6 separate regions of the Homo sapiens genome follow, and regions 1, 3, 4, 5 and 6 are each linked to region 2. Evidence: promoter capture Hi-C in human tissues and cell types (Jung and others, 2019). All regions are on one chromosome and are shown on one strand. The core of a region is centred on a gene start or on the middle of the fragment in contact, and the rest is flanking DNA. Distances in the headings are between cores, read along the strand shown.

Region 1 (4,377 bases), core at 1,569-4,068, 270 kb after region 2:
TTCCTTTTTTAAGCAAATAAGTAAAATGTGAGTCTCTTTCTTATGTTAAATCTATTTAGAGAATAGCATCTGCTATAATGTTTAATAATATTTTTATTTGAAAAATTACATTTGCATTGAATTAGTTCAGATAATAAGCACTTACCATATGTAAGGCAATATTCATAATCAATGAAACAAACATAAAACATGGACCTTCCCTTCATGGGCAGCATGGCATAATGCTTAAGATCAGAGGATCAGAATCCTATCTCCATCACTTAGAAGTTTTGTGGTTTTGGACAAGTTACTTGAGATCTTTGCTTCAGTTTCTCATTTGTAAAATAAAGATGATATTACATACTTCATAGTGTTGTTTGAGGAATAAATTAGGGGAATTATATAGTGCTTCACATATTGTAAGTACTTAATAAATGTTAGCTGCTGTTATTTTGACAGTATTATTTACTAATACGCATCTGTAGACCAGTGTGCTAATTGTTTTTATATTGGGCAGTCTGTAAATCCAAAGTAATTAAATAGATTGTTTGACTCATTCATTCAACAAATATTTATTGCTCTTCTCCTATTTGCTAGGTACTCTTCTGGGAGTGGAGAATCAAAAGTGAATAAGATGACAAAATCTGTGATTTTGTGGTGCTTATATTTTAGTAAGGGACAAAGAAAGATAATAGAGGATGGTAAGGGTAGTAGAGGAAAAGGAGCAAAGATCAAGCAGCTTCATTAAACAAAAGTACAAGATAAATTCACTAGAAAAATTTTCTTTTGCAGTGTGTCTTATATTTATGGGTTCTGAAGATTCTATACCCAAGCACATTATTTCTTCTGAGAGGCAACCATGAATGCAGACACCTTACTGAATATTTTACCTTTAAGCAGGAATGTGAGTACTGCCAGAAGAAATGTTTTCACTTCCTCAGTATTCTTTTGGACTTAAGTGGGTAGTAAGAGTTTTGAAGACTTTACAGTGCAACATGTAAGGACAGATTTCATGTCCACACATAAAGCTTTGAGGAAAGTTGTCGAGCACTCTCTGGTGTTTAATGGTATTAAGAAGTTTTTGGTGGGGCATGGTGGTTCACGCCTGTAATCCCAGCACTTTGGGAGGCCCAGGCAGGGGGATTGCCTGAGCTCAGGAGTTGGAGACCAGCCTGGCCAACATGGTGAAACCCCATCTCCACCAAAAATACAAAAAAAAAAAATTAGCTGGGTGTGGCGGCACACTCTTGTAGTCCCAGCTGCTCAGGAGGCTGAGGTGGGAGGATCGCTTGAGCCTGGGAATCGGAGGTCATAGTGAGCTGAGATCATGCCACTGCACGGACAATTGCCTGGGCAATAGAGTCAGACCCTGTCTCAAAAAAAAAAATTTTTTTTCATTTCAGAATTTCTTATTATGTTTAACTTTTACAAACATACTTAGAGTTTTATATATAAGTTTTAATGTTACAATTAATTTTTCTAAGCCAGGCACGGTAGCTCACGCTTGTAATCCCAGCACTTTGGGAGGCCGAGGCGGGTGGATCACCTGAGGTCAGGAGTTCAAGACCAGCCTGGCCAACACGGCAAAACCCCATCTCCTAAAAATACAAAAATTAGCCAGGCGTGGTGACATGTGCCTGTAATCCCAGGTACTCAGGAGGCTGAGGCAGGAGAATCACTTGAACCTGGGAGGCGGAGGTTGCAGTGAGCCGAGATCGCGCCATTGTACTCCAGCCTGGGCAACAAGAGCGAAACTCTGTCTCAGGAAAAAAAAATGTATATATTTTTTCTAACAGGAAAAAATAAAAACCAAAAGAAAAAAATGTTATTTTGCATTGGAGATTTTTGTCCTTCAATCTTGAGGCATTCCTGTGAGGAATCCTAACAAATTGTTTATCCTGTTACCATTGCAGATCATTTCAATCATGCTATTAATGATTGAAATTCTTCTTAAAATTTTTTTGTTTTTTTAAATATCATTGTTTTAAGACTAGTCAGGTACAGTTGGTGAAATTCTTAACCTGCAATGTTTATCCCTTTTCTCTCTCAAATTATTATAGCAATGGTAATCTAATACCTGTAAGTAACCATATGTTACAGAACAAGATTAGGCCTTTTTCACACCTCAAACCTTTGTGCTTTTTTATTATTTTTGTTATTTTTATTTTTTTTTTGAGACAGTCTCGCTCTGTCGCCCTGGCTGGAGTGCAGTGGTACAATCTCGGCTCACAGCAACCTCCTCCCGGGTTCAAGTATTCTCCTGCCTTAGCCTCCCAAGTAGCTGAAATTACAGGCATGCGCCACCACGTCCTGCTAATTTTTGTATTTTTGGTAGAGGCGGTGTTTCACCATGTTGGCCAGGCTGGTCTCTTAACTCCTGACCTCAAGTAATCCACCTGCCTCGTCCTCCCAAAGTGCTGGGATTACAGGTGTGAACCACCGCATCTGGCCTGCCTTTGTGCTTTTTAAGTTAATATTTATGACTGTATTAAGTAGAGTTAAATTCTAAAAGCAGAAATAATTTCAACGTTTTGAGACTCAAAACATGATCCAATAAAGGTCATACTAAGTAGAGACTTGCAGCAACAGGAGAAAAATACAGTGATGGGTAGTGGCAGAAGTGGCATACTCTTATAACTTCAAGGATCAGGCAGTTAACCTAAATGAGTAAGATAAGACCTGGAAAGTGCATGCTTGACCTAAAAGCAGTCAAATTAGAATTTTTATTAAACCACAGTGCTAGAAAACAGAGTCGTTAGCAGACTGCCAGTGTAGAATCTCTGGTTGCTGGATATATATATAGTTTTTTTAATATTTGAATATTACAGTATTAAAACAGGAAATAGGAACTAAGTTCTTTTTCTTTGCCTAGATAAATAACAAACCACCTACCAAAATCTCATCAAAACCAAAATAGGAATTTAAAGTTGTAAAGGAGCAAATGAAAGTGCATGATATCTCTCTAAAAGTAAATGATAGTTTGATTTGGTAGAGTTTTGTCTTTCTTGTGTTTCTATATTGGCTTCCTGCTTCACTGCCCATTTTAAAGTATTCATTGTAGGCAAGAGGAACCCCTCAGCTTTTCTGACATGAGCATGCTATTATCTTTTATTTTTCAGAAAAAATGGATGAACCTTGAATTTTGTTGTGATGATGTAGTCATCTTGCCTGTAATAAGAATAAAGTAGTCATTGACTCTTAGAATAAAATAAAGCAAGTATTAAAATGATTTTAACCTCAAGTACAGTTCTAATTTTGCCTTATTTGGCCGATAAAGGTGAAGGGTTGAGCTGTTTTTAAGAGATTTCTTTCTTTTTTTTTTTTTTTTGAGACAGAGTCTTGCTCTGTCGCCCAGGCTGGAGTGCAAGTGGCACGATCTCGGCCCACTGCAGCCTCCACCTCCTGGGTTCAAGTGATTCTTGTTCCTCACCCATTGAGTCTCTGGGATTACAGGTGCACACCAGCATGCCTGGCTAATTTTTGTATTTTTAGTAGAGACAGTGTTCTGCCATGTTGGCCAGACTGGTCTCAAACTCCTGGCCTCAAGCGATCTGCCTGCTTTGGCCTGTCAAAGTGCTGGGATTACAGGCGTGAGCCACCGTGCCTGGCCTGTTTTTAGAGATTTGACTGACTTATTTTTAACAATACGTGATGACTTTTCTGTCATCCAAAATAATTTTAGAGAGCAAATATTTTGCTTCATAAGACATAACATCATCGAGAATAATTTTAGAGAGAGCAAATATTTTGTCTTCATAAGACAGATAACTTTGCATATTTTTGTTGATTCTTATAGGGGAAGATGCTTTCCTTAAAAAAATTGTGTGCAGTAAGATTTATTCTCTGTGGTATTTACTTCTGTGACTTTTGACACTGCATAGAGTTGCCCACTACCACTATCATGATACAGAAAAGTTTTATCATGCCATAAGTTCTCTCTTGCTACCTTTTTATAGTCACCCCTTCACTCACTCTGAAGCCCTGGCCACCACTTTGCTGTTTACTGTCTATAATTTTCTTGCCATCTGTCTGTCTGTCTGTCTGGGCTATTACTACAGTTGAAACTGTAACTATCTCAATTTCATTATAAATAGCTATAAGATATAAAGGAGGGGAGAGAACAAGAAATAAAAATCTAATATATATGTTTTTAAAATGGTCACACCACCACCAGTAATGTAATTTTCAATTAGTTTTTTGTTTTTCTAGGTAAAATTAAGTATTCGGAAAGAGTCTATGAAGCTTGTATGGAAGCTTTTGATAGTTTGCCTCTTGCTGCACTTTTAAACCAACAGTTTCTTTGTGTTCATGGTGGACTTTCACCAGAAATACACACACTGGATGATATTAGGAGAGTAAGTATATATTTTACTTCCGAGATTGATTTCTATTTATAGT
Region 2 (4,569 bases), core at 1,884-4,383:
TGGTGGATGCCTGTAATCCTAGCTACTCAGGAGGCTGAGGCAGAGAACTGCTTGAACCTGGAAGGTGGAGGTTGCAGCCAAGAGGGTGCCACTGCACTCCAGCCTGGGCGACAGAGAGAGACTCTATCTCAAAATAAATTAAAAAAATACAAAAATTAGCTGGACGTGGTGGTGCATGCCTGTAATCCCAGCTACTGGGGAGGCTGAGGCAGGAGAAGTGCTTAAGCCCAGGAGGCAGAGGTTGCAATGAGTTGAGATCATGCCACTGTAATCCAGCATGAGTGACAGAGCAAAACTGTCTCAAAAAAAAATTAAAATAATAATAAAAAAAGGGAAGGGAAGGGCGCCCACGGGGCTCTCAGCTACACAGGGCCAGATTTATGTTCCTCAATCCCAGTTATCCAAACTTCTCAGGTAGCTTAGCTAGAGCAATACAACCCAACCTGAAGACTCTGCTGATTTCCCTCCCTAGCTCAAAGGAAACAGAAACAGAAACATACCTTGGGGAGGTGTTTGCTGATAGCCTGGTACTGGGCCATTGTAGGCTCCATAGGGAATGGCGGGGGCTGTGGACCCTGATTGCCCACCATAGCTGGACTGATGATACCCTGGGTAGATGGGCTGGGGCTGCCCAAATGGTGGCACAGGTGGAACTGACTGGTTGACGTTCATTATGAAAGCATTCCCAATTTGATCTCACCTGTGAGAGAGAGGAGAAATTAGTCAAAATGAACTTTCTAAAGAGAGCAACTATTCAGGGCAGGAAGTAGAGATAAAAAGAAATTGACCTTATCAGACAGTGATCAGTTTAATAATCCTCACACTTCCACAGGATCTTAGTAATTTTCTGCCCCAGCCAGCATTCAGATTATCTCCTAAAAGCAAGGATTTTGTTATTCTGACCATCCACCCTTTGTCACTGTCTAAATAGTATAAATTTCAACTTCAGACAGATCCACTGAAATGGAGCAGCAGCCTCCATTCCCCAGTGGTATGATTTCTAGTGTCTAGTCACACAGTCTTGTGGCTGATGAACTACCTTGATGTTACAGGTGAAAGAAACAATGTTCCCACTTTCCATTCATTCACTCTAGCATCCATTCATTCAGCAAACATCGAGTACCCTCTAGTGTGCTGAACAATTGATTTAAAATCAATCAGGCTAAAAATCTAAAACAGATCTGCTAAAATCCTTCCCCCTCAATGACAAAATTTAGGCTGAGTTACAGAAATGACATTCTTTAGCTAAACTGCCATAATACAAATGATACTCCAACCCAAGTCTTTCCACCAAAAGAGTGTATGGACCTTAAAACTGAAGGTTTTTTTTTTTTTTTTTTTTTTTTGAGACGGAGTCTCACTCTGTTGCCAGGCTGGAGTGCAGTGGCGCGATCTCGGCTCACTGCAACCTTCACCTCCTGGGTTCAAACGATTCTCCTGCCTCAGCCTCCCGAGTAGCTGGGATTACAGGCGCGTGCCACCACACCCAGCTAGTTTTTGTATTTTTAGTAGAGACAGGTTTTCACCCTGTTAGCCAGGCTGGTCTCGATCTCCTGACCTCGTGATCCACCCACCTTGGCCTCCCAAAGTGCTGGGATCACAGGTGTGAGCCACCACGCCCGGCCAAAACCGAAGCATTAAAATCAATAAAAGTTGGCCAGGCACAGTGGCTCATGCCTGTAATCCCAGCACTTTGGAAGGCCAAGTCGGGCAGATCACTTGAGGTCAGGAGTTCATGACCAGCCTGGCCAACACGGTGAAACCCAGTCTCTACTAAAAATACAAAAACTAGCCGGGCATGGTGGCACACGCCTGTAATCCCAGCTACTTGGGAGGCTGAGGCAGGAGAAATCGCTTGAACCCGGGAGGCGGAGATTGCAATAAGCCGAGATCGTGCCACTGCACTCCAGCCTGAGCAATAGAGCAAGACGCCCTTTCAAAAAAATAAAAAATAAAGGACACCTGAAAACTCTAGCAAGGTAACAGATTAAAACCAAGTGCAGAACAGGCACCAAAACTTCTTCACATAATCTGAGGAAACAGTTCAAGAATCAGGGGCAAAGTTAGAGTTAGATTTCATGGAAAAAAATCATTCACCTCATCCCTCAAGCAGAAGACTATGAATATTCTAAATTCCAATGCACTTCTCCAACTCTCCTGTTTCTGCTCCCCTTACGATTGTTATGAATCTCAGCCACCATCAAAATTATTACAATCTTGCTCATCAACACAGGGATGAATTAGAGGGCCTTTTCTAAACAGGGTCCTTCCAAGAAAACTATCTCATCACATCTACTTTCAACAGCTGTATCATTCCAATTATCCTGTAGACAGAAGGGGCCCAGAAAGCAGGAGCACTCAGAGTTGCTGCAAAGGGAACAATGGACCTCTCCCCCTTTGCTAGAAGGGCCACCTTGACTATAGAAAAGGAGCTGATCCTGGTCTAAAACTCTTTAAACTCAAAGTTATCTCAATAGCTGTTCTTCCAAACCCTAAACCTTACAGAGGTAGGTCACTGACACTAAGTTTAAAATATGTCCTCTCCCTTTATGTTTCCAAAGCCGGGGGGAGGGGTAAAGAAAGGAGCTTCTTCTCCAGAAAATAATCCCCTCAAACACATTCAAGAGCTTGGAGTCAGACTGAAGTCTCGACTCCATTCTGGGTGGATAGTCGAGGGTGACAACCCAAGGGGGCGGGGCAAGCTTCCTAGAACTCTGAAAGTAGTCAAGCCATGGAGCCTCGGAGAGCCGAGGATCAAAACCGAGAAGCCAAGTCGGCTTCTAGGGCCACGTTAAGAGAGGGGGCTGCTCTGTTAAGCACAGAGACCAAACGTCTTGCACCTTTTAACAGGCTCGGGGCAGGAAGCAGGAGCCGGAATCTGGGCCGGGAGACGAAGGGATGGTCTAGGACCTGCTCCTGGATGGTGGATGCGTGAGGTGAGGGTCTCTACCCAGGCCCCGCCCCCAGGCTCCTCCCTTCTTTCTGAAACCGGACCCCAATCTGGCCAGTAATACCCTGACCTCTCCTTTGCTTTCCTACCCGCCAACCTCCCGATGCCACTCCTCACCCGGCTCCAGATCCAGGTTAGACTTCGTTCCTAACGTCAAGGCTCCCAGGCTCCACTTCCGGTTCCGAGGGGGCCGTCCCGTCACCCCCGGAAGTTCCTCCTCCACGCTTTAGGGCCGGGCCACTTCTTCTGCCACGTCTGCATTTCGGGGACCCGGATGCCGCGCATGCGCCTCTTTCATCTTCCCATCATGGCCGCCGCCTGTGCGCCTCTGCTGAGTCGTATGTATTTCCCTCCTGACATTTTTTTTCAGATGTTCCAGTCACTTTATGGCCTCACCAACAGAAATGAGATTAAAAAGAATTTGTCAAACTATCTTTAATAATGCCCCTTCACTCTGCCTGTGACGTATTAGTGACCTCTGAGCTAGAGTCTTGTAGTCACTTCCTGGTGACCCCTGACCCCGTTGATTTCCGTCCGCTAGGTTGCTCTCACCCATGGCGTTTGCTGGTTATGAGATTTGCGGAACGTGTGGTGGTGGTAAAGGGCACCAACTGTTGTCAACCTGCATGTGGGGGTCTGAGGTCTGGCTCTACAGCTTGTAAAATGGAAATAATAATGCCCAGAGGATGAAATTAGGCCACATAGGCCGCTTGGCATCATAGTAAGCACTCAGTAAAGGTCAATTGTTATTAACCATTTTTATACAGCGCCTTTGTTTAGGTGCAGAGCTTTATCAGAGCCAAAAGATCTCTGCGCTCTGTTGGAAAAGATAGTTCCTGCAGTAATTATTAGTACCCCATTTAATGGCTAAGTAATTATAGCTAACAGTGCTAGGATTTCTTTTTCATATATGACTTCATTTGAACTTTTCAGTACTATTTGTTGATTTCATAATTTTTCGAGCACTGCTGTTGAAACTGCCTTTGCAAAATTACAACTGAGGAAATTATGATAGTGGAAGAAATCAGACTTAACCGACTCCATCTTGCTTCTAACCTTTAAGCTGTCCTTATTCATTCCTGGGTGTAGGTGGAACTAACTTTGGGGAGGAATTCAGTTTATGGTTTGAAACAAAATTGATAATAGCCCCTTCCCGAAAAGACCCCCTTCTTGCCTGGGGACCAGTCTGTCTTTACAGGACTAACAAATTAGCTACAAGATTACAAATTACAGTTTAGGGGACATGCAGCCTCTCGCTCCAAGAGTCTGAACCTCCCCAAATTGCTTTTAGGAATAACATAACTATTGTAAAACCTAAGATTAGTGCTTGAGATGTTTTGCAGACCCTGCACTCATTGGATCAGCTGACTACCTAGACCAGTAACCTGGCTCAATCAGTTCTGCCATTCCACCCAGGAACAGAAAACAGCAAGAAAACCTCACTTTGACTCCCTGTGATTCCGTCTTCAACCTGACCAATCAGCACTCCCCGCTTCCCAAGCTCCTACTCGCCAAATTATCTTTAAGAACTCTGATCCTCAAATGCTCAGGGAGACTAATTTGTGTAATAATAAAACTCTGGTCTCCCACACAGCTGGCTCTGCGTGAATTACTCTTTC
Region 3 (4,705 bases), core at 101-2,600, 400 kb before region 2:
ACTCCAGCCTGGGCAATAGAGCAAGACTCCGTCTCAAAAAAAAAAAAAAATCATAAGCTAAAGCAGCACATTCATGCACTGTTCAATATATTAACTACTAACCATATATGGTTATTTAAATTTAAATTAATTAAAATTAAAACTTCAGGCTAGGCTTGGTGGCTCACACCTGTAATCCCAGAACTTTGGGAGATCAAGGTGGGAAGATCACTTGAGCCCAGGAGTCCAGGATCAGCCTGGGCAATATAGGCAGACTTTGTCTCTACAAAACAAAAATTTGAAACTCAGCTGTGTGTGGTGATGCACGCCTGTAAGCCCAGCTACTCAGGAGACTGAAGTGGGAGGATCGCTTGGGCTCTGGAGGTGGGCGTTGGAGTGAGCCAAGATGACGCAGCTGCACTCCAGCCTGGGCAACAGAGCGAGACCCTATCTCAAAAAAAAAATAAAAATAAAAAAGCCGGGCATGGTGGCTCACGCCTGTAATCCCAGCACTTTGGGAGGCCGAGGCGGGTGGATCATGAGGTCCGGAGATCGAGACCATCCTGGCTAACATGGTGAAACCCCATCTCTACTAAAAATACAAAAAATTAGCCAGGCGTGGTGGCGGGCTCCTGTAGTCCCAGCTACTCGGGAGGCTGAGGCAGGAGAATGGTGTGAACCTGGGAGGCGGAGCTTGCAGTGAGCAGAGATCACGCCATTGCGCTCCTGTCTGGGAGACAGAGCAAGACTCCGTCTCAAAAAAAAATTAATTAAAATTTCAAAAAAATTAAAACTTCAGTATTGGGTACATTAGCCACATTTCAAGTGCTCAATAGCCATGGGTGTAGTGGCTACCATATTAGCACAGATAAAGGACATTTCCATCATTGCAGAAAGCCCTGTTGGACAGTGCTGTATTAGAACGTGTTCCTAATAATTAGTCTCTACAAGGCAGATAAGAGCAGGAGCTCAGAATTCAGCTGGATTTAGGTTTGAATCCTAGCTTACTGCGTGATCTTAGGTAATTGACCTAACTTTTCTGAGATGACATTGTCTTATCTGTAAAATGGGGATAATAGTAGTATTTATGGTGTAGCATTGTGAAAATAAGATGAGATAAAGTGTCTAGCATAGTGTCTGGCCCATAATAAGTACTCAATACATTTTAGATAGTATTAATTCATTTATTATTCATTATCTTTAATGAATAAAACACTTTGAATGGGGACTGAGTACAGTAGCTTCACTTTGGGAGGCGAAGGCAGGCGGATCACTTGAGGCCAACATGGTGAAACCCCATTTCTACTAAAAACAGAAAAACTAGCTGGGCATGGTGGTGCACACCTGTAATCCCAGCTACTGAGGAGGCTGAGGCACGAGAATTGCTTGCCCATGGGAGACGGAGGTTGCAGTCAGCAGAGATCACACCACTGCACTCCAGCCTGGGTGACAGTGGGAGACTCTGCTCAAACAAACAAACAAGCTTTGTTCCCAAGTAGCTGGGATTACAGGCGCACGCCACCATGCCCGGCTAATTTTTGTATTTTTAGTAGAGACAGGGTTTTGCCATGCTGGCCAGGATGGCCTTGAACTCCTGACCTCAGGTAATCCACCAGTCTTGGCCTCCCAAAGTGCTGGGATTACAGGCGTGAGCCACTGTGCCTGGCCAAAAATAACCACATTGAATGGGGCCAAAAGATTAATTTTTGCAAAGAATGCTGTGTTCCATATGTGACTCACCTGAAGTGCCCAAATCTGAGTCTGCTTGTGGATTACAGTGCTCCACTTGAAGTCATACATTATATATTTCAGATGCTGATTTTCTTCCAAGAAAAAGGTGTAATAATAAAAATTTAGTTGCAGATCTTATGGTTGGATATTCCTGTTTCATTTAAAAAATGAAAATGAAAAGTTTATCAGCTAAAGATTATAGTTAAAATCAGCAGGTTCTATATAGCAAGTCTAAGTATTCTAATGGCACTTATATTAATACCCAGACAGAAATATAAGACACAAAGCAAGCCTACTAAGCAAAGCATCTGACTAGATAAAGTAGAAAAATTTGGCAGGTTCCAACCCTGAGGTGTCAGAGTTTATTGCTAATAACTCAAGTTGATTTCTTGGCTAAACAGAGGGCTTTAAACAAAGAAATTTTTTGGTTCTAATTAAACAGGAACCCTAAACTGTTAACAGTATTCATACTTTATTAATACAATAATTACTAAAACATATCTTAGTAACTAGTATTATTGATAACTACTGAACATGTGTCGAATGGGAAGAGGAGATCATCACCACATATTCTTTAAATGTCAGCCGCTTTCATAAAAGAAAGGGTTGATGTTGTTTTCTGTCAACAGAATCAAATGAATCAATTCTGGAAAGTCTTCCTTTCCTCTTTGGAATTTATCTTCATTCATAGAAACTGTATTCATAGGTCTTAAATTCTTTCTTCTTAGACTATAGTACTATTACTTGGAATGATTGAGCCACTAGACTAAACACCTGATACTGGTGCTTATACACGTAAAAGATAGGAACAAGGTAAGATAATTAGACATTTTTCCATTGTCCCCCATATTGCAGGGACAATAAACTTCTTATAGGAAGCATAACTAACACTCAGAAAGTATGCAAATCACAATGTAAAGCCTAATGAGTTATCATAGAAGGAACACAGCTTGTAAACATCATGCAGGTCAAGAAATAAAACATTGGCCAGGTGCGGTGTCTCACTCCTGTAATCCTAGCACTTTGGGAGGCTGAGGCAGGCGGATCACGAGGTCAGGAGTTCAAGACCAGCCTGGCCAACATAGTGAAACCTCGTCTCTATTAAAAATACAAAAAAAAAAAAAAACTAGCCAGGTGTGGCGGTGTGTGCCTGTAATCCCAGCTACTAGGGAGGCTGAGGCAGGAGAATCTCGTGAACTTGGGAGGCAGAGGTTTCAGTGAGCCGAGATAACACCATTGCACTCCAGCCTGGGCGACAGTGTAAGACTCCATCTCAAAAAAAAAAAAAAAAGGAAAATAAAAAAGAAATAAAACATTACCAGCACTCTAGGAGATCATCCCCATGGCCCTCCACTCTCCATAAAGGAAACCATTTGATTTAACGTAGATTAGTTTTGCCTGTTCTACAACTTCATATAAATGGAATCATACTGTGTATATTCTTTTGCATCTGGCTTCATTTATTCAACATCGTATTTGTAAGATTCGTTTGTATGTATATATTCTTTGAGTAAATGTCTTTTCAAATCCTTTGCCCATTTTTTAATTGGCTTGTTTATTTATTTATTTTTTATGTTTTAGAGGCAAGGTCTCCCTCTGTCACCCAGGCTAGGGTGCAGTGGTGGGATCATAGTTGACTGCAGCCTCAAACTCCTGGACTCAGGCAATCCTCCCACCTCAGCCTCCCAAGTAGCAGGGACTACAGGTATGAGCCACTATGCCTGGCTAGTTTTTAAATTTTTTTATAGAGACGGGGTCTCAAACTCCTGGGCTCAAGCAATCCTCCCTCCTCAGCCTCCCAGAGTGCTAGGATTACAGTTGTGAGTCACCACACCTGGCCCTTCTTATTATTGAGTAAAAGTTCTTTATATTTTCCGGATAGGGGTCCCTTTAAGATATATGGTTTCAAATATTTACTATCATTTTGTGAATTTTTGCTTTCTTGATAATGTCCTTTGAAGCACTAAGTTTTAAATTTGATGGACTCTGGGTTATCTATTTTTTATTTTTCTTGTCTGTACTTTTGGTATCGTATCTTAAAAAACATTGTCTAATCCAGAGTCAAAATCTATGCATATTTTTTCTAAGAGTTTTATCATTTTGGCTTTTCCAATTAGGTCTTTGATACATTTTGTGTTGCTTTTTGTATCCAATTTCATTCTTTTGTATGTGGAAATCCAGTTGTTCCAGTACCATTTGTTGAAAAGGTTGTTCTCTCTCCAACTGGTCACCCAGGTCTTGGCACCCTTGTTGAAAATCAGTTGACCATAAATGTAAGGGTTAATGTTCTATTGATCTGTAGGTCTGTCCTTGTGCCAATACCACATAGTAGTTTTGTAGTAAGTTTTGAAATCAGGAAGCACGAGTTATCCATCTTCGTTGTTCCTTTTTTTTTTTAATTCAAATATATATATTTTTTCAATCTTTTTAATTCTACATATTTTTGTAAGCATCCCCCCAATTCTTGTTTCATAGTAAATCAGACTGTAGATGAAGCATTTCAGACCTTTTGTCAATCATGTCAAGTGTGAGGGGAAGTCTTTTGTAAGTCAGCCAAGTATTTCAAAATGAAAAGCTTTTCCAAAAGTAAAGGCAGAAGACCCCGCTTTGAAGGCGCTGGTCGGCACAGAAGGGCTTGCAAAGGTATGTAGGGAAGTCCACCGGTTACAGGTGTAAGGTGAGTTTAACCTACGGCGACCAGCTGGCCAGGAGCGCCCCAAGGCAGACGAGGACGTGGGGCTTGGGCGCACGGCCGCCTGCAGCCATCTCGCCCCAGATCCTGGCTCAGGAAACGCAGGCTCGGGCTGGGGTGGATGTGTGCGCCCCAGGGCCCTGGCACCCGGGGGACCGAGGGCTCCTCCCAGGTCCTTGGAACAGCAGAGTGGCTCCCAGGAAGGATGCTCAGCTGCAGGTGGGGGTCCCTGCTCCCAAGCACCCTGGCCAGGGAGGAATGGCGCACCCCACCCCGTTCGCCCCTGTTGTTCCTTTTCAAGAT
Region 4 (4,383 bases), core at 782-3,281, 330 kb after region 2:
TCAGACTGTAACAAGAATAGCAGGGCATGGTGGTTCATGCCTGTAATCCCAGCACTTTGGGAGGCCAAGGCAAGCAGATCGTTTGAGCCCAGGAGCTTGAGACCAGTGTGGGAAACATCCCAAAACCCCGTCTCTAAAAAAAATACAAAAAAAATTAGCTGGGCATGGTGACACATACCTGTAGTCCTAGCTACTTGAGGGGCTGAGGTGAGAGGATCGCTTGAGCGCAGGAGGTTGAGGCTGCAGTGAGCCAAGATTGTGCCACTGCACTTCAGCCTGGGTGAAAAGTGAGAATCTGTCTCAAAAAAAAAAAAAGAAAAAAAAAACCTTAACATTTATGGTCAATTGATTTTTCACAAGGGTACATAAACAATTAATTGGGAAAAGAACAGACTTTTCAACAAATAGTGCTGGGACAACTGGATATCCAGATGCAGAAGAATAAAGCTATACCCCCACCTCACACAATATACATAGATTAACTCAAAATGGTTCAAATACCCAAAACTAAAACTCTTCAAAGAAAAAAAAGGGGAAAATCTTTGTGAACTTATCTGGCAATGTTTTCTTAGGTATGACACCAAAAACACAAGCAACCAAAATAAAAATAAATAAATTAGACTATCAAAATTTAAAATTTTAGGCCAGGTGTGGTGGCTCACACCTGTAATCCCAACATTTTAGGAGGCAAAGACAGGAGGACTGCTTAAGCCCAGAAGTTCAAGATGAGCCTAAGCAACATAGACCTATCTCTACAAAAAAAAAAAAATTAGTGGGCATGGTGGCGCATGCCTGTAGTCACACTACCTGGGAGGCTGAGGTGGAAAGATCGCTTGAGCCCAGGAGGCTGCAGTGAGCCATGATCGCACTCCAGCCTGGGTGACAGAGCGAGATCCTGTCTCAAAAAAAAAAAAAAAGAATGAGAGAAAATATTAATAAATTATATATCTGATAAGGGACCTACAACTTAAAAGGACAGATAACCCAATTAAAAATGGGCAAAGGATCTGAACAGACATTTCTCCAAAAAAGATGTATAAAGGGCCAATAAGTACATGAAAAGATGCTCAACATCATCAATCATTAAGGTATACAAATTAAAATTATAATGAGATACCACTTCATACCCACTACGATGGCTATGATGAAAAAAAGAGGTAGTAACAAATGTTGATGAGGATGTGAAGAAATTGTAACCTTCATACACTGCTGGTGGGAATGTAAAATGATGCAGCCAATTTGGAAAACAGTCTGGCAGTTCCTCAAACAGTTAAACATTGAGGGCCAGGTAATGATGACTCACGCCTGTAATCCCAGCACTTTGGGAGGCTGAGCTAGGAGTACTGCTTAAAGCAAGGAGTTTAAGACCAGCCTGGGCAACGAATCAAGACCCTGTCTCTTTAAAAAAAAAAAAAAAGTTAAAAATTGACTTACCATTTGACCCAGAAGTTTTGCTCATAGGTTTGTACCCATGAGAAATGAAATCATATGTATATAAATATTCATAGCAGCATTATTCATGACAGCCAAAAGATGAAAACAACCAAAATATCCATCAGCTTATGAATGGATAAGCAAAATGTGGTAAATCCTTACAAGGAAATAGTATTTGACCATAAAAGTAATGAAATACTGATTCATGTTACAATATGAAAGCCAGTTACAAAAGACTACATATTGTACAAGTGCATTTATATGAAATGTTCAGAATAGGCAAGTCTATGGAGACAAAGTAGATTAGTGGCTACATGTGGAGGGGAAGGATGGGGGTATTGGGGGCGACGGGTAAAGGATATGGGATATAACCATTCTAAAATTGATTGTGGTGGTAGATGCACAACTCTGAATGTACTAAAAATCATTGAATTGTACACATTATATGGGTGAATTATATTTCAATAAAGCTATTACCAAATTTTTCTAATCTTAGAGAATGTAAAAAATAAGGATATTTAAATCCTTAACACAGTACCTAGCAAATAGTATGTCCTTAGTAGCTATTATTTGATAAATATCATTTTGAATTTTGCTCAGTAACACAGATTGAACTAGCAGTAGTGTGTAAGATGGTTTGGTAATGGAAAATCCAGTTAGGACACTATTGTCATGGTTCAGACGAGATAATGTAGGTGTCAGCTAAGATTATATCAGTAGGTATGGAGAGCAAGAGGTAATTTTTAACTACAAGTAAAGTAAATAGTGACATTTTGCAGGTAGAACATGAAAGTAAAATCTAGGATTTGTTTGCTGATTGTGATGGATGAAGGGTGATGTATCTGTCAGCCAGAATATAATTAGAAACTACACAGTAACAGGTGGCGCAAAAACATCCAATTTAGTAGAATGGTGGTGATAGTACACAAAAGTCCAAATGCCTAGCTTATTGTCAAATGCTGAGGATTCTAAGATGGCTTCTGCCCTTATAGGAGACTGACATAAGCAAGGACAATATAATGGAGTTATGTTTTCTAAAGTCAGCATATGAAATGAAAAAAAATTTTCAAAACTACCTTTGAAAATCCTTTAGGGTAGCACATGGGTTCTCTCAGTAGGTCTATCAGAGCCAGTTTTTCCCAGTGCTGGAAATAAATCTGTATTTGGCTGATCACCAGACGAAGTAGTTGGCTTGGGTTTTGGGGGCCCTATTGTAGTCAATCAGACAATCAATTATTTATCAAACACTCACTACTAGGCTCTAAAGATATCCCTGTTCTCAAGGAGCTTACATTCTAGATGGGGACAGAAACAGTAAACACACAGAATTTCAGATGCTTTTTTTTTTTTTTTTTTTTTTTTTTTTTTTTTTTTTGAGACGGAGTCTCGCTCTGTCGCCCAGGCTGGAGTGCAGTGGCGGGATCTCGGCTCATTGCAAGCTCCGCCTCCCGGGTTCACGCCATTCTCCTGCCTCAGCCTCCCAAGTAGCTGGGACTACAGGCGCCCGCCACTACGCCCGGCTAATTTTTTGTATTTTTAGTAGAGACGGGGTTTCACCGTTTTTAGCCGGGATGGTCTCGATCTCCTGACCTCGTGATCCGCCCGCCTCGGCCTCCCAAAGTGCTGGGATTACAGGCGTGAGCCACCGCGCCCGGCCAGAATTTCAGATGCTTTTAAGTGGTATAAGGAAAATTAAATAATGAGCATAGCTGCTAGTGGTGGTTGTGCTGGTGGCAGCTACTAATGTTCAGGAAATACCTTGAGGAGATGACATTTTTTGTTTGTTTTTTTGAGATAGGGTCAGGCTCTGTCACCCAGGCTGGAGTGCAGTAGTGAGATCTTGGCTTACTACAGCCTCTGCCTCCCAGGTTCAAGTGATTCTCCCCTGTGAGCCTCCTAAGTAGATGGATTACAAGTGCACACTACTATGCCTGACTAATTTTTGTGTTTTTTGTAGAGATGGGGTCTCGCCATGTTGCCCAGGCTGGTCTCCAACTCCTGGGTTTCAGTGATCTGCCTGCCTTGGGCCTCCCAAAGTGCTAGGATTATAGGTGTGAGCCAACTCACCCAGCCAGGAGACCACATTTGAGATGACACCATGGAGAACATTCCCAGTAGAAGCAATAGCAAGTGCCAAGGTCCTGAGAATCTGGTGCATTTGGTCACAAGCTTGGTATGTTTGGACCGAAGGCCACTGTGTTCAGAGGTTAGTGATTAAGGAAAGTGAAGGCCAGGCGCCGTGGCTCACGCCTGTAATCCCAGCACTTTGGGAGGCCGAGGCAGGTGGATCACGAGGTCAGGAGATCAAGACCATCCTGGCTAACATGGTGAAACCCCGTCTCTACTAAAAATACAAAAAAATTAGCTGGGCGTGGTGGCAGTCACCTTTAGTCCCAGCTACTTGGGAGGTTCAGCCAGGAGAATGGTGTGAACCTGGGAGGCGAAGCTTGCAGTGAGCTGAGATTGCACCACCGCACTCCAGCCTGGGCGACAGAGCAAGACTCCGTCTCAAAAAAAAAAAAAAAAAAGTGAAAAGGGATTAGATGAGCGATGTAGGCAGGGACCAGATTATCTAGGGCTTAATAGACCATCAGGAGTTTGGATTTTATTTTATTCTGGTTCCAGTGGGAAGCTATTAAAAAAGTTTAATCACGGGAATTACATGACCCAATTTATTCTTTAGAAAGATCACTCTGACTCAGGGTTTCTTAACCTCAGCACTATTGACTTTTTGGGCTGAATAATTCTTTGTGTAGGGACTGTAGGCATTGTAGGATACGTACCTTGTTTAGAATCCTTGGCTTTCACCCACTAGATGCTAGTAACCCCACCACCTCCCCTCAGTTGTGACAAACAAAGATGTCTCCACACATTGTCAGGTGTCCCTGAGGGACAAAATTACTATTCTAATGGAACAAAAAGGATATGAACTTAAATACCAGACTCTGG
Region 5 (4,223 bases), core at 1,437-3,936, 470 kb after region 2:
TTAGGCTGTTTGCTGAGGCTCAGCTATAGATGTATCTCATGTTGGAGATACAGGACAAGAAATTGTCCCTTCAGGGCTATGTCCTTTGAAAGTTTGTCTTCTGAGTTTTTCTAAAATTCTAAGATCTTTTACAACAAAGGTGTAAAATGATGAGGCTGTATCAAGTATACCTTTTAGTCCAGAGATTGTATGTTTGTCATGCCACCACATGATGTTGCATTTAAGTGAAAGGGAGTAATCCATGAAGTGGAGGTGGAATTCAGATAATCATGATGGTTGCCCCCACTTTCAGTGTAACTCCTTGCCTCAACTCTTACAGAGACTATAAATGTCTTTGGAACTACTTCCAAGTGAAAGTCTGCTCTTTCATGTGATCTATCCATCTCCTCTCACCAATCTTCTTGCGATAACTCCCTTAAGGTAGACGTCAAAGTACAATTAAAGGACTTGCTTAACTTAGATTGTTCTGGAGAGCAATTATCAGAGATCCCATGATCATCCCAGCAATATGGGGTTTGAAGCTTCTAGAACAGTAGCTTAGTGGTGCTTTCTTTCTACAGTATGAAAAGGCAAAGAAAACCTATATGCAAGCCTGTAAGAGATCACCTTCATGCCTTACCTGGCTAGGACTGGGAATCGCCTGCTATCGGGTAAGAGGATGAAGGCTTGAGACTAGGGCTGTGGATACAGCTGACCTTGATTCCTTGGCCTTCCAAGCATCCTGGGGGTTTGTGATGACATTGGAATAGCAATCAGGGCTGTCTGCTGTAATGAAAAGTTGTTCTTCAAAGGTGTTCAGTGAACTGAAGGTCACTTAACTAGCTAGAAAAATAAAAGATCTTTTTAAAAAATCCCAGAAAAACCTGAACCAAGAAGCTACATAATAAAAAAAATTCATGTTATTTGGTATAGACACTCCTTTGTGATATTATCTGTAAGAAAAAGGTGATATGGGAGATGAAGAATCTATTCAAGTCAATTAAAGAAATTGATTGACACTTACTAAGCACTGTGACCCTTTGATATGCAGGAGGAGTTGCTGTAACTTCTGGCAGAAGCTTTTGCTCTGCTTCTCCTAAAAACTCTTTACTTAACCTTCCCTCATTTCCTCCAGTCTTCAAAGAGGCAAACATCCTCTTGTTCCTGCCTAATTTCTTCAGGCATATTATTGACTCCATGTCTCTCCCTTTCTTTGAATAGCTTACTCACTTATTTATTTATTTATTTATTTATTTGAGATGGAGTCTCGCTCTGTCTCCCAGGCTAGAGTGCAGTGGTGCAGTGGTGTCACCTCAGCTCACTGCAACCTCTGCCTCCTGGGTTCAAGTGATCCTCCTGCCTCAGCCTCCTGAGTAGCTGGGATTACAGGTGCCCACCACCATGCCAGGCTAATTTTTGTATTTTTAGTAGAGATGGGGTTTCACCATATTGACCAGGCTGGTTTTGAACTCCTGACCTCAAGTGATCCACCCCAAAGTGCAGGGATTACAGGTGTGAGCCACCTCACTTAGCCCCTCATTGCTGTTTTTCAGCCATAAAGATAATATGTGTTCATTATAGAAACTTTAGAAGAAGCCAGGAGCAGTGGCTCACACCTGTAATTCCAGCACTTTGGGAGGCTGAGGCTGAAGGATCTCTTGAACCTAGGAGTTTGAGAGAAACCAACCTGGGCAACAGAGCAAGACCCCCATCTCTACAAAAACATTAAAAATTAACCAGGCATGGTGGCATGTGCCTGTAGTCCCAGATACTTGGAAGGCTAAGGTGGGAGGATTGCTTGGTGGGAACACAGAAGTTAGAGGCTGCAGTGAGCCATGATTGTGCCACTGCACTCCAGGCTGGGTGACAGAGCAAAACCTCACCTCTAAAAATAAATAGACAAATAGATACAAAATATGAAGAAAACATTAAAGTATCCGTAACTCCACAAGTTGGTGATAACCACTGTTAACATTTGAATGTACTTTCCTCCCGTCTTTTTTCATATATATGAAAGCAATTTTAATGTATAAAATGTAAATATTTACTGCTTTGTAACCTTTTTTCGACTTAACAGTATAGTATTGGTATCTTCTTATAGCTCTGTCACCCAAGCTGGAGTGCAGTGGCGCCATCTTGGCTCACTGCAACCTCTGCCTCCTGGGTTCAAGTGATTCTCCTGCCTCAGCCTCCTGAATAGCTGGGATTACAGGCATGTGCCACCACACCCAGCTAATTTTTGTGTTTTTAGTAGTCACAGGATTTCGCCATGTTGGCCAGGCTGGTCTCAAACTCCTGTCCTCAGGTGATCCTCCCACCTCGGCCTCCCAAAGTGCTGGGATTACAGGCGTGAGCCACCGCACCCGGCCTGTGTTTTGTTTTTCACACATCTGTCAGTGAGCCCTTTGAGGGCAGATATTGTATTTTATTTATTTACTTGAGACAGGATCTTGCTCTGTCACCCAGGCTGGTGTACAGTGGCTCAATCTCAGCTCATTGCAATCCCTGCCTCCGGGGCTCGGTTGATCCTCCTGCGTCAGCCTCCTGAGTACCTGGGACTACGGGATTTTATTTTTTTACTCCCAGCATCTAGCATACTGCCTGACACAGAGCAAATCCTTGGCAAATGTAGGTTGATTAAATAATGAATCAATGTCTCAGAGACTTCAAAGTGTGGGCCAAAGTATGGGTGTGGGTGAAAGGCCATCTCTTGTCTTTGGCCTAGAAACCCATTATTTAATTATTTTAAAGCAGAAAAAGTAGGCTGGACACAGGTGGTTCATGCCTGTAATCCCAGCACTTTGGGAGGCCAAGGTGGGCAGATCACTTGAGGCCAGGAGTTTGAGACCAGTCTGGCCAATGTGGTGAAACCCCGTCTGTACTAAAAATACAAAAATTAGCTGGGTGTGGTGGTGGGCACCTGTAATTCTAGCTACTTGGGAGGCTGAGGCAAGAGAATCGATTAAACCTGGGAGGCGGAGGTTGCAGTGAGCTGAAATCATGCCATTGCACTCCAGCCTGGGCAGTACAGCGAGACTCTGTCGAAGAGAAGGGAAGGGGAGGGGAGGGGAGGGGGAGGGGAGGGGAGGGGAAGGGAAGGGAAGGAAAAGAAAAGGAAAAGAAAAGAGAAAAGAAAAGGGTGGCTGGGGAGGGGAGGGGAGAGGAGAGAGGAGAGGAGAGGAAAGAAAAGAGAAAAGAAAAGAAAAAAGAAAGGAAAAAAAGAGCTACTTTACTGGGGAAGGGAGAGCCTTTTGGAATGTTTTACAAAGCAACAAAGCAAACTCACAGTTTTAGGAAGCAGCAACAATTTCCACGTGCCCAGAGCCCAGAGTGCACCCTAGAGTTTCTGAATACTGCATTGATTGCTCGGGATTGGGCTGTTAATAACTGATACTAGGGGAAAGAAAGCTTTCTGGACAATAGTATTTCAACAGGCAAATCAGATTTTTACCTCAAGAAAAGGATGCACAATGTAAAGAAAAAAAACTATAAATGTATCTGACAGCCCACTGTGTGTGGAGAAATCACTGAATGATGCACACATGAGAGTGAGTTCCTGTGGATTTCCAACCTTGCACCTGAAACTCCATGGTTTATAGATGTCCTGATGGGACCGCTGTAGAGGGAAGGAAGAAAGGGGTATAAGTTAAGAGCTTACTAGGCAGGGCTTCAGAATCCCCGACCTGGCTTTTTAATCAGAGCTCTTCTACTTTTAATTGGTTCATATATTGAACCACCACATAAGATTTCCTTTGAAGAAAAGAGTTCTGATGCTAAAAATATTAAAAAGTTGAAAACCATTGGTATAGGTCATATACACCAGTATTATTGGGACATAGTGGTTTCAGCTAAGCTAACTCACATGTCTCATTTTTCTGTCAAGCTGGAGGAGCTCACAGAGGCTGAGGATGCTCTTTCTGAAGCCAATGCATTGAACAACTACAATGCTGAAGTATGGGCATATCTGGCTCTGGTCTGCCTGAAAGTGAGTGTTTATTATCCTTACACAATGCCCTTTTAGGGCACAGAGGTGAGGGGTCAAGTAAGCAAGGGGCAGCAGATGGCCATTAATGCATGGTAGCTGAAATCTGATAAGCTCTAGGTGTAATCATTATGCTGATGACAAAGGAAGGGCCAAGTCTGGGCAGGCTGTACTTGGAACATGCTTAAAAATAATATATTTAGGTGTGTTTCTCTGGAAAGGAAGTTCTAAAAATAGGAGCAATATTGTATCACAACATAAA
Region 6 (4,420 bases), core at 408-2,907, 370 kb after region 2:
GAGCTGGGACCACAGGTGCCCGCCACCACGCCTGGCTAATTTTTTGTATTTTTAGTAGAGACGGGGTTTCACCGTGTTAGCCAGGATGGTCTCGATCTCCTGCCCTCGTGATCCACCCGCCTCAGCCTCCCAAAGTGCTGGGATTACAGGCGTGAGCCACCGCGCCCAGCCCAGTCTTTGTCTTTTGATTAGAACGTTTAATCCTGGCTGGGCGTGGTAGCTCACACCTGTAATTCCAGCACTTTGGGAGGCTGAGGCCAGCGGATCACTTGAGATCAGGAGTTCAAGACCAGCCTAGCCAACATGGTGAGACCCCGTCTCTACAAAAAATACAAAAATTAGCCGGGTGTGGTGGCATGCGCCTATAATCCCAGCTACTCGGGAGGCTGAGGTAGGAGAATTGCTTGAACCCAGGAGGTGGAGGTTGTAGGGAGCTGAGATCATGCCACTACAATCCAGCCTGGGCTACAGAGCGAGACTCCATCTCAAAAATAAAAATTAAAAAAAAGAAAATGTAATCTATTTACATTTAAAGTAATTACTGATAAGAACTTCTGTTGTATTGCTATTTGTTCTCCATATGGCTTACTGCTTTTTTGTCCCTCATTTCCTGCATTACTGTCTTTTGTGTTTAGTTGTTTTGTAGTGAAACATTTAAATTCATTTCCCTTTGTTTTGTGTATATTCTATAGCTATTTTCTCTGTGGTTACCATGGGGATAACATTTAACATCCTAAAGTTATAACACTAAATTTATGCCAGCTTCAGTGACATATACAAACTCTTCTAACAGCTGTGTCCTCACCCCTTTTGGTTGATGTCACAAAATTACATCTTTTTACATTGTGTGACCCAAAACATAAACTAATTCTTTTAAATACATTAGTTTCTTAAATTACGTAGAATACAAAATTTGGAGTTACAAACCAAAATTACAGTTATGCTAGTGTTTAGTTTTTTTTAATGTGTTCATCTCAAATCATGTAGAAAACCAAAAGTATCGTCACAGACTATTATTACAATAACATTAGCTTTTATAATTGCCCATGTATTTACCCTTTATTGAGATCTTTATTTCTTCATGTGGCTTCAAGTTACTGTCTAGTCTCCTTTCATTTCATCCTGCAGGACTAGGACTTCTTTGAGCATTTCTTGTAGGGCAGGTCTAGTGGTAATGAACTTTCCCAGCTTTTATCTAGGAATGTCTAAATTTCTTCCTCACTTTTTAAGGACAGTTTTGCCAGATATAGGATTCTTGGGTCGACAATTTTTTTTTTAGCACTTTAACTATATCATCCAATTCTTTCTGATGAGAAATCTGCTGATAATCTTATTAAAAATATCTTGTATGTGGCAAATCACTTCTCTCTTGCTGATTTCAGGATTCTCTCTTTGGATTTAGAAAGTTTGATTAAAGGCTGGGCACGGTGGCTCACGTCTGTAATCCCAGCACTTTGGGAGGCTGAGGCAGGCGGATCACGAGGTCAGGAGATCAAGACCATCCTGGCTAACACTGTGAAACCCTGTCTCGACTGAAAATACAAAAAATTAGCTGGGCGTGGTGGTGGGCGCCTGTAGTCCCAGCTACTCGGGAGGCTGAGGCAGGAGAATGGCATGAACCCGGGAGACAGAGCTTGCAGTGAGCCGAGATCGTGCCACTGCACTCCAGCCTGCGTGACAGAGCGAGACTCCATCTTAAAAAAAAAAAAAAAAGAAACTTCGATTGATTAAAATGTGTCTTAATGTGGCTCTCTTTAAGTTCATCTACTTGGAGTTCATTGAGCTGCTTGGGTGTTTATATTCATGTCTCATAGAACTTGGGAAGCTTTTAAGCCATTATTTCTTCAAATATTTTCTCTTCCTATTTCTTGCCCATTAGAATTCCCACAATGTGTATGATGGTCCACTTGATGGTGTTTCACAGGTCCGTTAGGCTCTGTTCACTTTTCCTCAATCTTTTTTCTTTCTGTTTTTCAGACTCAGTTTCCATTGTCCTGTCTCCAATTTGACTTACTCTTTTTTTTGCTTGTTTAAATCTGCCTTTGAATCCTGCTAGTGAATTTTTGCATTTCAGTTATTGTATTTTTCAGCTCCAGAATTTGTTTGGTTTCTTTTTAGGTTTTCTATCTCTTTATTGATATTTCCATTTTCTTTATACATCATTTTCTTGGCTTTTTCCATATCTTCCTTTAGTTTTTTGATCATCTCTTTTATTTTATTTTATTTTTTTGAGACAGGGCCTCACTCCTGTCGCACAGGCTAGAGTGCAGTGGCGCAATCACAGCTTAACTGCAGCCTCGACTTACCTGGCTCAGTTGATCTCCCATGTCAGACTCCAAGTAGCTGGGACTACAGGTGTGTGCCACCACATCCAGCTAATTTTTTGTATTTTTTAGTAGAGATGGAGTTTCACTGTGTTGCCCAGGCTGGTTTCAAACTCCTGGGCTCAAGTGATCTGCCCACCTTGGCTTCCCAAAGTGTTGGGATTACAGGCATGAGCCACCACCACACCTGGCCTTATATCTTTAAGACAGTTTTTTGTTTTTGTGTTTTGAGACAAGGGTCTCGCTCTGTCACCCAGGCTGGAGTGCAGTGGCACAATCCAAGCTCACTGCAGCCTCAAACTCCAGGGCTCAAAGTGAGCCTTCTGCCTCAACATCCCAAGTAGCTAGTTAGGACTATAGACACAGGCCACTGCACCTGGCTGGCTTATTTTTTAATTCTTCTTCTTCTTTTTTTTTTTTTTTTCTCTAAGAGACAGGGTCTCACTGTGTTACCCAGGCTGCTCTTGAACTCCCAGCCTCAAGTGATCCTCTTGCCTTGGCCTCCCAAAGTGCTGGAATTATAGGCATGAACCACCACACCCAGCCTTTAAGACAGGTTTTAAAATTTTTTTGTGTAATAGATCTGTCACCAGGTCTTTTTTTAGAGACAGTTTCTGTTTATTTTTGCTTTTGATTGGGGATAGTTTCCTGTTTCTTTGTATGCCTTGTGATTTTTTTCATTGAAAATTATACATTTGGGTTTGATAATGTGGTAACTCTGGAAATTGGATTCTCCCCTTTCCCCAGGGTTTGCTATTTTTTGTTACTGTATTTGTTTATTGTTTTTTGTTTTTGTTTTTTAATTGTTGTAGGCTGTCTCTGGGCCAAGGACCATACTGAGGTATAAACTTAAGGTCTTCTCAGGTCTTTTTGAGCCTGTGCCTTTCTCTGGGTGTGGGTGGCCACTTTCTAATTTTCCCCATATATGTAGTTGCTTTTGAATGTCCTTGTCTTTAATGTCTGCCCCCCAAAGGGAGAAAAAGAGAAAAATGAAGGGTTGGGATAAAGACACACGTACCAGACCTTTCAGTCCCCTGGACGTCACTTCACCTGGAGAGGGAGAGACTTGCAACAATTGGGGGAGATGCAACAATGGCCCCTGCTTCTTTGTCTATACCCCTGTGATCAGAAGCAGTGTTCAGTAATCAGCACAGATATCTCATATTTGGAGGATAGGATACTTTTTTTGCCTATCCTGGCTCCCACAGGCTATGTGCAGGCTCCTACAGGAACAAATGCACACTCGCCTCCCACAGGATGGGTAGCTACTACTGTGCTAAGAGCGAAAATTGAAAAAGTCCAAATTGCCATCCAAGTTTTCCTCTGGAAGTTGCAAACCTTCAATAGACTCCAGAATTCCAAAATAGTTACCTCAGACAGCCTGGGTGGGGAGGCAGATTTCTGGTGCTTCCTACTCTGTCTGCCATCTTCCCAGAGTCCTTTCCCAAGCAACATATTTTTAAACTTTTAAAAATACGAGCTATAATTCATATATACAATTCACCCTTTTAAAGTGTACAATTCAGCTGTGCATAATCCCAGCACTTTGGGAAGCCAAAGCGGGAGGATTGCTTGAGCCCAGGAATTTGAGACCAACCTGGGCAAGATGGCAAGACCCCGTTGCTACAAGAAAATAATTTAAAAAATTAGCTGTGTGTGGTGGTGCATACCTGTGGTTCTAGCTGCTTGGGAGGCCAAGGCAGGAGGATGGATCATTTGAGCACAGGAGTTCGAGGTGACAGTGAGCTATGATTGTGCCATTACACTCCAGCCTAGGTGACAAAGTGAGACCCCGTCTCTCAAAAATAATGTGTACAATTCAATGGTTCTCACCATACTCACAAATTTGTGCGACCGTCACCACAATCAATTATCGAACATTCTCATCACCCCAAAAAAGAAACCCCGTACCCAATCAGTAGTCATTGCTCATTCCTCACCCTCCTACCCAGCCCCTGGCAACCACTAATCTAGTTTCTGTCTCTATGGGATTTGTCTATTCTGGACTTTCCAAATGACTGGAATCATACAATGTGTAGCCCTTTGTGTCTGACTTCTTTCATTTAGCATACTGTTTCTAAGGTTCATCTGTGGTA

Evidence for each region. The method cuts DNA at HindIII sites, captures the fragments that hold promoters and counts their contacts. A contact is called where the count stands out against the background at its distance.
Region 1: a fragment that was not itself captured here is called in contact with the fragment with the promoter of SEC24C in region 2 in 1 of the 25 tissues and cell types used here (dorsolateral prefrontal cortex).
Region 3: a contact is called between a fragment that was not itself captured here and the fragment with the promoter of SEC24C in region 2, in 1 of the 25 tissues and cell types used here (aorta).
Region 4: a fragment that was not itself captured here is called in contact with the fragment with the promoter of SEC24C in region 2 in 1 of the 25 tissues and cell types used here (pancreas).
Region 5: a fragment that was not itself captured here is called in contact with the fragment with the promoter of SEC24C in region 2 in 1 of the 25 tissues and cell types used here (H1 embryonic stem cells).
Region 6: a fragment that was not itself captured here is called in contact with the fragment with the promoter of SEC24C in region 2 in 1 of the 25 tissues and cell types used here (pancreas).

The regions. Positions count from the first base shown.
Region 1 is chr10:73,471,425-73,475,801 of GRCh38, reverse strand. PPP3CB (protein phosphatase 3 catalytic subunit beta) reads left to right here. Exons shown (of 14, transcript NM_021132.4): 4 at 772-883; 5 at 4,189-4,334. Among named protein-coding and RNA genes, the nearest start is that of PPP3CB-AS1, 22 kb to the left of the region's middle. The HindIII fragment of the contact is 5,523 bases long and covers 57-4,377 here.
Region 2 is chr10:73,742,936-73,747,504 of GRCh38, reverse strand. It overlaps SEC24C (SEC24 homolog C, COPII component), which reads right to left and starts at 3,133. Exons shown (of 23, transcript NM_198597.3): 1 at 3,068-3,133; 2 at 501-700. The coding sequence starts at 672. LOC124902453 (a long non-coding RNA gene) reads left to right here and starts at 3,240. Exons shown (of 2, transcript XR_007062195.1): 1 at 3,240-3,288; 2 at 4,294-4,541. RefSeq lists enhancers at 2,618-3,184, 3,085-3,514, 3,185-3,752, 2,592-3,791. The HindIII fragment of the contact is 12,749 bases long and covers 11-4,569 here.
Region 3 is chr10:74,140,011-74,144,715 of GRCh38, reverse strand. The region is part of intron 1 of AP3M1 (adaptor related protein complex 3 subunit mu 1); the gene reads left to right. Among named protein-coding and RNA genes, the nearest start is that of AP3M1, 8.5 kb to the left of the region's middle. The HindIII fragment of the contact is 7,040 bases long and covers 1-4,705 here.
Region 4 is chr10:73,416,558-73,420,940 of GRCh38, reverse strand. No RefSeq gene overlaps it. Among named protein-coding and RNA genes, the nearest start is that of ANXA7, 4.7 kb to the right of the region's middle. The HindIII fragment of the contact is 5,847 bases long and covers 1-4,383 here.
Region 5 is chr10:73,269,355-73,273,577 of GRCh38, reverse strand. CFAP70 (cilia and flagella associated protein 70) reads left to right here. Exons shown (of 28, transcript NM_001367801.1): 25 at 561-650; 26 at 3,863-3,964. It overlaps DNAJC9-AS1 (DNAJC9 and MRPS16 antisense RNA 1), which reads right to left. Exons shown (of 4, transcript NR_038373.1): 3 at 620-765. Among named protein-coding and RNA genes, the nearest start is that of MRPS16, 19 kb to the right of the region's middle. The HindIII fragment of the contact is 3,792 bases long and covers 791-4,223 here.
Region 6 is chr10:73,368,370-73,372,789 of GRCh38, reverse strand. No RefSeq gene overlaps it. Among named protein-coding and RNA genes, the nearest start is that of CFAP70, 12 kb to the right of the region's middle. The HindIII fragment of the contact is 7,434 bases long and covers 1-4,420 here.